Regions from separate parts of the Homo sapiens genome. Here region 1 is linked to region 2. The links are contacts of gene promoters, found by promoter capture Hi-C in blood cells and fetal thymus (Javierre and others, 2016). All regions are on one chromosome and are shown on one strand. Each heading gives the region's core, a stretch centred on a gene start or on the middle of the fragment in contact. The rest is flanking DNA. Distances are from core to core; before and after follow the strand shown.

Region 1 (6,813 bases), core at 2,665-5,164, about 11 Mb before region 2:
GCCAATCGATCTTAGTGCCAGGAAGTACCAGCGCCACCTGCGATGGATTCTTGCCAAGACAAGTTGAGCATGAACCTGATGGGGCCTCTAGATCAAACCTACAGTTTACAGGAAATATGGCAGATAAGGAAAACTTAGAAGCAGCAGAAGCAACCAACCAACTCCAGCATGTGGGGCATTCTACCAAACAAACGACCCAGTTTGTTCAATAAATAATTGGTATAAAAGGTGAGCGAAGAGGAGGATAATTGGTTTTAAAGACTTAAGAGCCATAATAACCCATGCAATGCAAGGACCCTGTTTGCATCCTAAATCAAACAAATCAAGTCTAACCAACATTTTTTTTAGACAACCAAGAAAATAAAACTCAATTTTTGCCAATCCAAAGAATACAAAATGCTCTTATTTTTGAATTTACATTTTCTGGATTCCTAGTAAGATTTTCATAGATTTATTGGCCATTTGAATTACTTCTCTGTGAATTACCTATTCATATCCTTTGCACATTTTTTCCTGTATTGTTTATCTTTTTAAAAACTTTTTTGTAGGTCGGGTGCGGTGGTTAACGCCTGTGATTCCAGCACTTTGGGAGGCTGAGGCGGGTGACCTGAGGTCGGGAGTTCGAGACCAGCTTGACCAACATGGAGAAATCCCTCCGTCTCTACTAAAAATACAAAATGAGGCCAGGCGCCGTGGCTCACGCCTGTAATCCCAGCACTTTGGGAGGCCGAGGCGGGCGGATCACAAGGTCAGCAATTTGGGAGGCCGAGGCGGGCGGATCACGAGGTCAGGAGATCGAGACCATCCTGGCTAACACAGTGAAACCCCGTCTCTACTAAAAATACAATAGCCGGGCGTGGCGGCGGGCGCCGTAGTCCCAGCTACTCAGAGCCTGAGGCAGAAGAATGGCGTGAACCCGGGAGGCGGAAGTTGCAGTGAGCCGAGATCGTGCCACTGCACTCCAGCCTGGGCGACAGAGCGAGACTCCGTCTCAAAAAAAAAAAAAAAAAAAAAAAAAAATCCAAAATGAGCCAGTTATGGTGGTGCCTGCTTGTGATCCCAGCTACTCGGGAGGCTGAGGCAGGACAACCGCCTAAACCTGGGAGGCGGAGGTTGCAGTGAGCCGAGACTAAGCCACTGCACTCCAGCCTGGGCAACAAGAGTGAAACTCCGTCCCAAAAACAAAACAAAACAAAACAAAAACCTTTTTTTACGCCAGGTGTAGTGGCACAAGCTTGTTTTGGGAGGCCAAGGCAGGAGGATTGCTTGAACACAGGAGTTCGAGGCCAGCCTGGCCAACATAGTGAAACCTATCTCTATAAAAAATGATAATAATAATAATAATAATAAACTTTTTAATTAAGGTATAACATACAGAAAAATACACAATCATATAAATTTTTATGAATTTTCACAAACTGAATACCCAAGGTAACCAGCACCCAAATCAAGAAACGAAACATTACCAGTTCCCCCACGAAGCCTCCCTTTGTCCCCTCCCATTCACTATGTTCCTCTTAAAATTTAGGGGATTCATTTGCCTGTGTTTGAAGTTTATGTAAATGAACCACACAGTACTCTGGGGGTTGGCTTCTTTTGTTCAACTTTTTTTTTTATTTATTTTTTATTTTTTGAGACGGAGTCTTGCTCTGTTGCCCAGGCTGGAGTGCAGTGGCATGATCTCGGCTCACTGCAACCTCCGCCTCCGGGGTTCAAGCGATTCTCCTGCCTCAGCCTTCCGTGTAGCTGGGACTATAGGCACGCGCCACCACACCCGGCTAATGTTTGTATTTTTAGTGGAGACAGGTTTCGCCATGTTGGCCAGGCTGGTCTCAAACTCCTGACCTCAGGTGATCCGCCTGCCTTGGCCTCCCAAAGTGCTGGAATTACAGGCGTGAGCCACCACGCCCAGCTTTTGTTCAACTTTATATTTGTGAGATCCATCCATGCTGTTATGTATCTGCCTTCTTCTTGCTGTCTAGAATGGTCTATACCTTCTGGAAGGTAATTCACTGATATATTATATTTTAGAAGGAAATATAGGCAAGTGTACTACTACCTACTTAACATTTTTTAAACGTTTCTTAAACTTTTAATTTATTTAAATAAACATATTTAAAGAAGAAACTTTAGATCACTATCATCCTGAGCAACAAAATCCATAAAAACACAGATTTGAGCCTGGGTGCAGTGGCTCAGGCCCGTAATCTCATCATTTTGAGAGGCCAAGGTGGGCCGATCACTTGATGTCAGGAGTTTGAGACCATCCTGGCCAACATGGTGAGACCCCATCTCTACTAAAAATACAAAAATTAGATGGGCATCTTGGTGGGTGCCTGTAATCCCAGCTACTTGGAAGGCTGAGACAGGAGAATCGCTTGAACCCGAGAGGTGGAGGTTGCAGTGAGCCGAGACTGCTCCACTACACTCCAGCCTGGGCGTCAGAGGGAGAGTTCTGTCTCAAAAAAACAAAAACAAGCAAACAAACAAAAAACCCCATAGATTTGATACGCTAATTATGATTTTTTTAAACGTCATTCATTAAGGCCTTCACAGTGGCTTATGCCTGTAATTCCGGCACTTTGGGAGGCCGAGACAAACGGATCCCTTGAGCCCAGAATTTTGAGACCAGTCTAAGCAACATAGGGAGACACCATCTCTACAAAAAAATAGAAAAATTAGCCCGTCGTGGTGGTGTGTGCCTGTAGTCATAACTACTCAGGAGGCTGAGGTGGGAGGACAGGTCAAGGCTGCAGCGAGTGGTGATTGCACCACTGCACTCTGGCCTGGCCCACAGGGCGAGATCTCATCTCTTAAAAAAAAAAAAAAAAAAGTCGGGCGCGGTGGCTCATGCCTGTAATCCCAGCACTTTGGGAGGCCCAGGCAGGCAGATCACGAGGTCAGGAGTTTGAGACCAGCCTGGCCAACATGGTGAAACTCCGTCTCTACTAAAATACAAAAACTAGCTGGGGGTGGTGGCGGGCACCTGTAGTCCCAGCTACTCGGAAGGCTGAGGCAGGAGAATCGTTTAAACCCGGGAGGCAGAGGTTGCAGTGAGCCGAGATTGCTCCACTACACTCCAGCCTGGGCAACAAAGCCAGACCTTGTCTCAATAATAATAATAATGCATTGTTTCCCAGTGTGTTACAATGTGATGCGGTAATGGGAATTTAAAGTTATGTAATAGACAACTTTATTTTTTTTTTTTTGAGACAGAGTCTAGCTCTGTTGCCCAGGCTGAAGTGCAGTGGTGCAGTCTCGGCTCACTGCAACGTCCACCTCCCGGGTTCAATCAATTCTCTGCCTCAGCCTCCCAAGTAGCTGGGATTACAGACGCCTGCCACCAGGCCTAGCTAAATTTTTTTTGTATTTTTGGTAGAGACGGGGGTTTCACCATCTTGGCCAGGCTGGTCTTGAAATCCTGACCTCGTGATCCGCCCGCCTCGGCCTCCAAAAGTGCTGGGATTACAGGCGTGAGCCACCGCGCCCGTAGAGGCCTCCTTTTAGATCTTCCATCTATCCCTGTGATGGAAATATTTGGTGCCTTTTTAAAAGTACACGACTAATACGTTTCTTGTAGGAATATCAGAAAATACAGATGCGCAAACCAGGGTTGGGGGGAAGAAGTTTGGAGTACTGGGGGCGGGGTATATTTTAAAAGGTGGCAAAACACTTCCACTCCCAAGAAGCCAAATTAGTATCAGTAGATATAATTCATATTTAAACCCAGACTACCCCAAGCGAGAACAGCCCAGGACTTAAACTCCGGCCTCCGCTGGGACCTCAGGCCCCGCCTACTTCTCTAAATAGTCCCGCCCCCTGCCCGGCCCGGCTCCGCCTCTCCTCTTCGCTGGGTTTCTCTTGCAACCCCGCCCCTCAGCGGCAAAGTCAGTTACAGTTCTCGCGATAACACAACCCGGAAGTCTCACGGCCGGAGTTGGTGGTCTGGGAACCCACGTGGGCTGGGTTTCGGATTGCTCTGCTGGTCCGGCCGCTGGAGCGCCCACCCTGGCCTAGTCGCCATGGGGAAGCTGCGCCGGCGCTACAACATCAAGGGGCGCCAGCAGGCGGGCCCCGGACCCTCGAAGGGCCCCCCCGAGCCGCCCCCCGTGCAGCTGGAACTGGAGGGTAAGACATCCCCGGACCGGGGCTGGATTTCGGAGATTTCCCAGGGCGGCCTGTGCCCTGCCTTCAGGACTCTCGGGTGGGGATCCCAGAGGGGTGGGATGGATCATCTGGAATGGGGGAATGGGTCCCCCCATTCCAGATGATCCAAAGGAGAGGGGCTTAGTGACAGCCTAGTTTTAACAGTGTATATGGAATACCCGGGATTTCTCTCGCCCTCAAATAGTAACATGGAGAATTTGGCAAAAAAAACAGGAGTAGTTCCATCCCTTCCCATGACTTCGATTATAATCTCTTTATAATCTCCAGCGACCCCCAAATGTGTATTTTCAGCCCAGTCTTGTCTGCTCAGCTCCAGGCTGGCTGACATTTCTCTCAGACCCCTTTTTAGGAGTAGCCCTTATTACATGCCAGGCACTATTCTAGGCACTGGAGACATAGCAGAAAGGGAGATTTTTAGAAAATCCCTGAGTTTACCTGCTGTATAGGAGGAGACAGGCAAAGAATAAACATATAGAAATTTATGCGGCTATAGTGAGCAGATAAAACAGAAGAGGCCATTGGGTGGGTTGCAGCATCCCATAGAGTTGCTGGAGAAGACATCACTCTGTTAGAGTCAAGATCTGAAGGAGACCTGAGTGGCTGCCTGGAGATGAGAGAAAAAACAGGGGGCCAGGGCAGGTCGGGCCTGGACTGCAGTCTTGGCGAGGACTGGGGCTTTTTCTCTACGGGAGAGGGCAGCCATGGGAGCATTTAGAGCAGAGGAGGCGTGGTGGTGGGCACCTGTAGTCCCAGCTACTTGGGAGGCTGAGGCAGGAGAATGGCTTGAACCCAGGATACGGAGGTTGCAGTGAGCCAAGATCGCACCACTGTACTCTAGCCTGGGTGAGAGAGCGAGACTCCATCTCAAAAAAAAAAAAAAAAAAAAAAAAGTTCCACAGACAGGCTGGGAGTTGAGGCAGATCCCCTAACATCTCTGTGCCTTCGTTTTCACATCTGCAGAATGGGACCAGTAGCACACGTTGAGCAGCCTTAATCCAAAATACTCCAAAATTCAAAAGTTTTTGAGTGTCAACATGACACTTAAGGAAATGCTCATTGGAGCATTCCAGATTTCAAATTTTTAGATTAGGGATGCTCAACCAGTGAATAGAATACAGATGTTCCTAAAGCTAAAACAGGTCTGGTTCCTAGCATTTCTGGAAAGGGATATTTAACCTGTAGTAGCCGTCTTACCTCCTATCAGAGTTTTGGAGATGGTAATTTGGGAAAATATGTTGCTTTGAAAAGTAAAGAAAGGTTACAGAGGTGGGGTGTGTCCCAGGACAGGTGACAACCGTTATGATGGCAGTGACAATTCAGGATGGCACCTCAAAGACAGCCGTAGACACTGGGCTGACACTTGGAACTGGACCACCTGAGCAGAGGGGCTGAGGTCTCTCAGACCCAGAGATTTGGGGAAAGTTGTTTCTCACATCAGAACAGGACATTTCCATGTATCCCTGCCTTTCTCAGGGGCCAGAGGAATCTCATAAGAACATGACTCAGATTACCTTCTTTTATTTATTTATTTATTTGAGATGGAGCCTTGCTCTGTCGCCTAGGCTGGAGTGCAGTGGCGTGATCTCTGCTCACTGCAACCTCCACCTCCCGGGTTCAAGCAGTTCTCGTGCCTCAGCCTCCTGTGTAGCTGGGATTATAGGTGCATGCCATCACACCTGGCTAGTTTTTGTATTTTTTGTAGAGACGGGATTTTGCCATGTTGGCCAGGCTGGTCCCCAACTCCTGGCCTCAGGTGATTTTCCCAAAGTGCTGGGATTGCAGGCGTGCGCCACCGCGCCCGGCCCCACCGTACACTCTTAGGAGAACATCAGGCTGGGTGCAGTGGCTCACGCCTGTAATCCCAACACTTTGGGAGGCTGAGGCGGGTGGCTCACTTGGGGGTCAGGAGTTCGAGACCGCCTGGCTAAGATGGTAAAACCCCGTCTCTACTAAAAATACAAAAATTAGCTGGGGCGTGGTGGTACATGCCTGTAATCCCAGCTACTTGGGAGGCTGAGGCGGGAGAATTGCTGGAACCTGGGAGGCGGAGGTTGAAGTGAGCTGAGATTGCGCCACTGCACTCTAGTCTGGGGGACAAAGTGAGACACCGTCTCAAAAAAACAAAAAGAGAAAATCATAGTATTTTTTGGGGGGTTTTCTTTTTTTTGAGATGGAGTCTCACCCTGTCGCCCAGGCTGGAGTGCAGTGGCAAGATCTCGGCTCACTGCAACCTCCACCTCCCAGTTTCAAGAGATTCTCCTGTCTCAGCCTCCCAAATAGCTGGGATTGCAGGCACCCACCACCACACCTGGCTAATTTTTGTATTTTTAGTAGAGACAGGGTTTCGCCACATAGGCCAGGCTGGTCTCGAACTCCTGACCTCAAGTGAGCCACCTGCCTCAGCCTCCCAAAGTGCTGGGATTACAGGCATGAGCCCCTGCGCCAAGCCTTGAGAACATCATAGTATTGTTATGAAAATAGATTTGAGCTCACAGATCCCCCTGTTCCTGTGTGCAGACTCAGGAGGCCCCCATGCAAGTCAGGGGGCTTGTGGGAGGCGGGACCAGAGCTACCTCAAGGAGAATGGGGACTTAATAACTGTGCTCTCTCAGACAAGGACACGTTGAAGGGAGTTGATGCAAGCAA
Region 2 (7,476 bases), core at 4,977-7,476:
GTTTTAATAAAGGCAGTTCATGAAAATAATAAAAGTATGTGAAACTAGGACTGGCTGGGCAACATTGGCCCTCTTGTAAAACTAATATCTCAGAGCTGCCTCATAAAGCCTGCCCCAGCCCACCCTAACGAGGGTCACGGTTTAGAGCAAACAACCCCCCAGTTGTCATTTAATTCATATCACATATCAATAAATATCTGTTAAATATCACAGTGTGCAGGAAACAACCCTCCAGTTATTATTTAATTAAAGACATAACAATAAATATCTGTTGACTTTGAAACACAGTGACCCGTAAGTCATCGACTCCAGGCTTGAGGGTACATTTTTACATGCATATGTGTTTTAATTGAATAGACAGTCTACACAAGACAGAGAGAGGGTGAAATCTGATCTTCAGAGTAGACTACTACAAAGCAAGCAGATCTCATGGGTCGAACAGCAGCCCCCAAAAGATATGCCTACATCCTAATCCTCAAAACCTGTGAATGTGACTCTTTTTGGAAAAAGGGTCTATGCAGATATAATCACCTATGGATCTCAAGATGAGATTGACCTGGAGTTACAGTGGGTCCTAAGCTTAATGGCAGGTGTCCTGCTAAGAGGAAGCATAGGGAGGTGGATTTGACTCAGACACCAGAGTGGAGAAGGTCATGTGAAAACAGAGGCAGAGACGGACGCTATGCAGCCACAAGCCAAGGAATACCTACCGCCACCAGAAACTGGAGGAGACAAAAAAGGATCCTTCCACTTTGAGCCTTTGGAGAGACCACTGCGCTGCTGACACCTTGATTTTAAATTCCTGGCCTCCAGAACTGCAAGAGAATACACTTCTGTTGTTTGAAGCCATCCAGTTTCTGGTAATTTGATATAGAAGCCCTAGAAAATCAATACACCCCATAATCCTGTAACTTAAAACTATAGCTCATGGGGTGGCTTCCTGGTTTTGTAAATAAAGTTTTATTGGAACACGGCCACAGATGTTAGCTCTGGATGTGTTCAAAATACAGTAGCAGGATGCAGAAGTTGCATTAGAGACCACATAGTGAAATACTCTCTGACTTTTTAAGAAAAAGTTTGCCAATCTCTGATTTAAAACATATACAGACCGGGCATGGTGGCGTGCACCTGTGATCCCAGCACTTTGGGAGGCCAAAGCGAGAGGATCACTTGAGCCCAGAAATTTGAGACCAGCCTGGGCAACAAAGCCAGACCCTGTCTCTACAAAAAATTTAAAAATTAGCTGGGTGTGGTAATGCATGCATGTAGTCCCACCCACTTCGGAGGCTGAGGAAGGAGGATCACTTGTGCTCAGGAGATCAAGGCAGCAGTAAGGCCTGATCACACCACAGCACTCCAGTCTGGGCAACAGAGCAAGACCTTGTCTCAAAAAAAAAAAAAAAAAAAAAAAAAAGGCCAGACACAGTCACTCATGCCTGTAATCCAAGCACTTTGGGAGGCCAAGGCAGGTGGATCACTTGAGGTCTGGAATTTGAGACCAGCCTGGCCAACACAGTGAAACCCATCTGTAATAAAAATACAAACAATTAGCCAGGCACGGTGGTGTGCACCTATAATCCCAGTTACCGTCTCAAAAAAAAAAAAAGACAAAACCCAAAATAAATACATAAAGATTTACTGGGCTCCCTACAATTTCACCCCTCCAAAGCCATCCTGCAGAAATGCCCACAATTAATATACATGCTTGTTGACTTTACCCTATGGTTAAGTATAAATATATGCAGATGTAGTTTATACATGATTAACATTTTAATGTATTAAAAATAATAGGTAATTTTTTCATAATGAAATATCAAAATTATAAAAGGTTACTCAAGGTAAAGGACATTTCCATCCATCCGTATACTCACTTCCTCGGTCCCCTCCCCAGAAGCAACTGCTGTTACCACTTCCTCATGTATCTTTTGAGATCGCCTTTGCTTACATAAATCATATATAGTGTCCCCTCCAAATTCCTATGTTGGAGTCTTAACTTTTCATACCTCACAAAGTGATGTTATTTGGAAATAGAGTGTTTACAGAGGTAACTATATTAAAATGAGGTCATTAGAATTAGCTTTAATCCAATGTCTTTTAAAATGGGGAAGTTTGAACATGAACTCATGGACACAGGGAGACTGTCATGTGGAGATGAAGGCTGAGATCGGGGTGACATGTCTACAGGCCAAAGAGTGTCAAAGATTGCCAGCACACCACCAGAAGTGAGACAGGGAGGAACAGATTCAACCTCACGGCTCTCAGAAGGAACCGGCGCTGCCAACACCTTCATCTCGAACTTCTAGCCTTCAGAACTGCAAGACAATACATTTGGAAATTTACGACTACCCTGGCCTACAAACATGACAAGTATCTATGTATCCTCACCCATCTCCCTCCTTTTTTTGTGTGTGTGTTTTGTTTTTACCTAAGTGAAAGCATACATAATACATTATTTAGTATATTGCTGGTTTTCACTTAACAATATATTTTGGAGATTGTCCCATGTCCCATGTGCTAGTTCTTCTCTAACAGCCCATCTCCCATTCCCTGAGCCTGCTCCTCCACTTTGCTCTGTGCCCCAGATGCAATCTGTGTGCACTGCAACATCTGTGATCATGCCTCCAGCTTCCCATTGGTTCGGCCAAGGGGAGGCTCCAGTAGGAAACTGCAGTTGGGAAGAGAAAGAGGGGACAGTGTATTTATCCCCGACACACACACACCTGTGGTTCCACAGTGGCTGTATCTCTCTATAGCTCTAGTCCTTAAAGTACGTCCCTCTTCCATGGCTCCTGGCATCACTGAAGCTCAGGAATGACATGTCCTACTCTGCCCTTCAGCCCCAGGGGTGGTGATAGCTCCCCACTGTTGCCAGGCCCTGGGGTTTGGCCATCCTTTGTTGGTTCCCTTAACCCTTCCTGTATTCATTTGCTGCAGGTGCTGTCTCAAATTACCACAAATTAGATGGCATAACAATGCAAAGTTATTCTCTCACATTTCTGGAGGCCAGAATCCCCCAAAGCACCAGCAGGGCCATGCTCCCTCCAAAACCTCCAAGGGAGAACGCTTCCTTGCTTCTTTCAGCTTCTGGTGGCTCCAGGTCTTCGTTGACTTGTGACTGCATCACTCCAGACTCTACCTCCACCTACACATGACGTTCTCTGTGTGTCCTTTAAAAGGACATGTGTCATTGGATTTAGGGTCTACCAGGATAATTCAGGATGATCTCATTTTGAGACCCTTAAGTACATTTGCAAAGACCCTTGATATGGTTTGGCTGTGTCCCCACCAAATCTCATCTTGAATTGTAGCTCCCATAATCCCCACGTGTCCTGGGAGGGACCCAGTGGGAGATAATTGAATTATGGGGGTGGTTTCCCCATACTGTTTTCGTGGTAGTGAATAAGTCTCACGAGATCTGATGGTTTTATAAGGGGAAAGCCTTTCACTTGGTTCTCATTCTCTCTTTGCCTGCCACCAGGTAAGACATCCCTTGCTCTTCCACCATGATTGTGAGGCCTCCCCAGCCATGTGGAACTGTGAGTCCATTAAATCTCTTTCCTTTATAAATTACCCAGTCTCAGGTATGTCTTCATTAGCAGCGTGAGAACAAACTAATACAACACTTTTTTGCAAATAAAGTCACATTTACAGCTTCCAGGGGTCAGGATGCCCCCAGTGTGTGTGGTGGTGAGGGGACAGGGGATCATTCATCCCACTACACTGCCCACCCTTCTGTAAATAGCTTTTTGTCCAGATTTGCTTTTGTTAAATCCTTTTGAGTATACCTCTGTGTCCTGCTGACTGATGCATTTCCTTCAAAAACATTTATAGCTACATACCTACCGTTTTTTAACAACTGCATAGAATTCTGTTGAATGGACAGACCTTAATTTACAATTAGCATTTAATGAACTCCTATTACCTGTCTCCTCCTGGTGCCCAGTGTGATGCTTTGCAAAGATGGATCTAAGGATGCCCCTATGGCAACATAATGTAGAAAGAACAAGTGGCCTCATCTATAACTCTGAACCTACACTGTGCGCTCCTCACCAGCGAGTTCTGTAGGTTTATGCTGTGGCAGATGCATGAGCTCCCTGCATTTGGGGCTCAGTAGGAAAGAGGCATATTCGAGGATGCCATGTTTGAGCTGGTCTTAGAGAGGGGATGGGAATGGGTTCAGAAAGATATTCCAGTGGCCAAAAGCACATGAAAGATGCTGTTTCATTAGTTATCGGGGAAATGCAAATCAAAACATTGAGTCACCACTGTACACCCACTAGAGTGGCTATGATTATAAAGACCCAATAACAAACACTGGAGGAGATGTGGAGATATTTGAACCTTCATATACCGCTGGTAGGAATATAAAATGGGGAAGCCACTTTGGATAACAGGTTAGCAGGTTCTAAAAAGGTTAAGCATAGAGTTACCATATGATCAGGCAATCCTACTCCTAGGAATATATCCAAGAGAAATAAGAACATATGCCCACACAGGAACTTACAGGTAAATGTTCACGGCAAGATTATTCACAGTAGCCACAAAGCGGAAACAACCCAAATGTCCATCATCAACTGATGAATAAATAAAATGTAATACATCCATATATGTAATACTATTCAGCAAAAAAAGTGTGGTGGCTCACGTCTGTAATCCCAGCACTTTGAAAGTTCAAGGCAGGTGGATTGCTTGAGCCCAGGAGTTCAAGACCAGCCTGGGCAACATGTTGAAACCTCGCCTCTACCAAAAAATTACCAAAAAAAAAAAATTAGCCAGGCATGGTGGCATGTGCCTGTAGTCCCAGCTGCTCAGGAGGCTGAGGTGGGAGGATGGCTTGAGCCTGGGAGGCGGAGGTTGCAGTGAGCTGAGATTGTGCCACTGCACTCCAGTCGGGGTGACAGAGCCCGACCCTGTCTCAAATAAATAAACAGATAAATAAAGTGCTGATTCATGCTGCAACATGGAAGAACTTTGAAAACATTATGCTAAGTGAAAGAAGTCAATTACAAAAGACTACATATTGTATTATTCCATTTACATGAAATGTCCATAACAGACAAATCCATAGAGACGGAAAGTAGATTAGTGGTTATCAGAGGGAAGGGAGAGGGAGGAATTGGAAGGTTATAGCTAAAGGGTGTGGTGTTTCTTTGGGGGTAATGAAAATGTCCTAGCATTGATTGTGGTGATGGCTGCACACCTCTGTAAATATAGTCAGCACCATTGAATTGTGCACTTTAAGTGGGTGAATTGCATGGTTTGTGATAAAGCTGTTAACAATAAGAAGGGGGGACGGAATGTCTTTTAGGTGAAGGAAATTGCAGAAGCTTGGCAGCAACGTCCAGTGCAGCTGAGGCACTGTGGGGAAACAGAAAGGAAATACCGTCATTTAAGAGTGAAAATAGGGGTTTTCATAGGATGTCTCCATCCAAGAGTAGGTACCGAGAATGCTCAGAGAAGCAATAGGAAAATAACATCCCTTTCACGTTCTCACCTCCTTAACCCCTAGCATAATAAAGAATTATTCCCATTTTATAGAAGTAGACACAAAGGCTCAGAGGCCATTTTGGCCAAGATCTCTCAGCTAGAAGATTGGCCAGCTGAGAGTTCCAAACATTAGGAAGGGAGGCAAAATGCTTGTGGGGCTGGGGTTGAAGGCGTAGAGACTCATTGTAGGGCCCTAGGCAGTCCCTAGCTCGAATCTGACTTTCCAATTCATAGTTATAAGACTTTGAGCAAGCTGCTTTACACGCACGATTCCCAGTTTATCTGCCTGCAAAATGAGAGCGTTTATTTCCAACATGTTCATTCCAAGTATTTACACAAAAGGCTCAATACTTGATTTGTGTTGGCTGGCAATCTCTCTAAACTTCACTTTCCCCATTTCTACGAGGAAGGCAAGGGTCCCTAATCTTGCCCCCGTTCTCAGGGGAGTCCTAAGGCTCAATAATAAAAATAAAATAAGAAAAAGGAGAGAACGCGATTGCCCGGTTGGCGCGACCCTTAACACCGAGCTAAACCGGCGCATGTTAGGGACCGGCGCCCCCTGCCGCCTTCTCCGCTGCATTGGCGTCTCACAGAATCCGCCCAAGGCCCTGCGCCTGCGCAAAATGCAAGCGCCCAGGCCCACCCCTTGTGGGGTGTGACCTCCCTGAGTAGTTTTGGATTAGCCACGCCTACTTCCGGACAGGTCAGGCCAAGGTCTCAGCCACGTGACTGTGTTCCGGCTCGGTAAAGATGGCGGCGCCCAGGGCGGTAGCGTGAAACTTGGTGGAAGACGCTGACCAGTCGTGTTGGAATCAAAACAGCGGGGACCCTGCGCCATGTCGCGACTGATCGTGAAGAATCTCCCGAATGGGGTGAGTGCAGAGGCAGGACTTGGGAATCTGAAATGAGACCAGCCGGGAGCTGTGAGGTAGGGAAGAGATGCCTGGAGGTGATCGAAGAATTTTTGCTCTGGGGCAGGACTCCGGGCCAATTCTGAACTCAAAGGGGGCGGGATCCTGGGCTTATCCCCATTTGATCCCGAGGAAAGAGGAATAGTGACTGCTTACGGTTTCACGGCCGGTTGTTTGGTACCTGACTCCTAACACACCTCTTCTCGGGGAGATGACAACTCCCACCTTGTGGCGAATACCCTGCTCCCACAACCTCTTTCATTCGATCACTGTTTTTTAGTTGTTGACCCGGGACATGGTCCGACACTGTATTTATATTCCTCTCCCAGTCTGGAAACTGTTGGGGAAGACATGGGGAATATTAATCTGCGGACCTGCGTTCCAATTCCCACTCCCATCCTTAGGGCAAGTAGGAATACGGAGTGGGTAAAGGGCTTTACAGCATTTATCCAGTAAGTGGGGAGTGGTGACCCAGCCATACTTTTTTGTTTCCCTGGAGCCCAGCGCAGAACCCGACACGTGGTAGGCAAAATAGGTGAATGTACGTAATATTAGATGATTAGATGCGGTGGGCTCGAATGGATCATCCTTTTTTCTCTCTCTCGCTGTTTTTTGTTCTGTTTTGTTTTTTTGTTTTTAAATGGATTACTGCTCCTTCCATCAGGTTAGACAGTGTCTCTTGATGCCTCGCTTTGTGGGATGAGGATTTTTAGCGTAGCTGCACTTCCTTTCCCTCCCAAATTCAGCTTTGTTGTGTTTCAAGTGTAGTTGATTCTCTTATCATTGTTTGTCTTATCTCTTTTTTTTCTCTCTCTTTCATGGCTTTTTTTGGTTTTGTTTTTTGTTTTTTTCTTTTTTTGTTTTTTTTTTTTAAACGGAGTCTGGCTCTGTCTCCCAGGCTGGACTGCGGTGGAGCAATCTCGGCAGTCTCGGCTCACTGCAACTTTTGCCTCCCGGGTTCTAGCGATGCTCCTGCCTCAGCCTCCCAAGTAGCTGGGACTACAGACACGCGCCACCAAGCCCGACTAATTTTTTTATTTTTAGTAGAGACATGGGGTTTCGCCATGTTGGACAAGTT

The links. Contacts are between HindIII fragments. The CHiCAGO score rates a contact against its expected background, and 5 or more counts as called.
Region 1: the fragment with the promoter of DHX37 here is called in contact with the fragment with the promoter of RBM19 in region 2 in 1 of 17 cell types (naive CD8 T cells); the score reaches 12.3 in naive CD8 T cells.

The regions. Positions count from the first base shown.
Region 1 is chr12:124,986,232-124,993,044 of GRCh38, reverse strand. It overlaps DHX37 (DEAH-box helicase 37), which reads left to right and starts at 3,914. Exons shown (of 27, transcript NM_032656.4): 1 at 3,914-4,128; 2 at 6,780-6,813. The coding sequence starts at 4,023. RefSeq lists enhancers at 330-830, 5,451-5,994 and a silencer at 4,001-4,210. The HindIII fragment of the contact is 16,586 bases long and covers 1,237-6,813 here.
Region 2 is chr12:113,965,075-113,972,550 of GRCh38, reverse strand. It overlaps RBM19 (RNA binding motif protein 19), which reads left to right and starts at 6,226. Exons shown (of 24, transcript NM_016196.4): 1 at 6,226-6,359. The coding sequence starts at 6,324. RefSeq lists enhancers at 5,920-5,989, 5,948-6,875, 6,876-7,476. The HindIII fragment of the contact is 5,534 bases long and covers 5,330-7,476 here.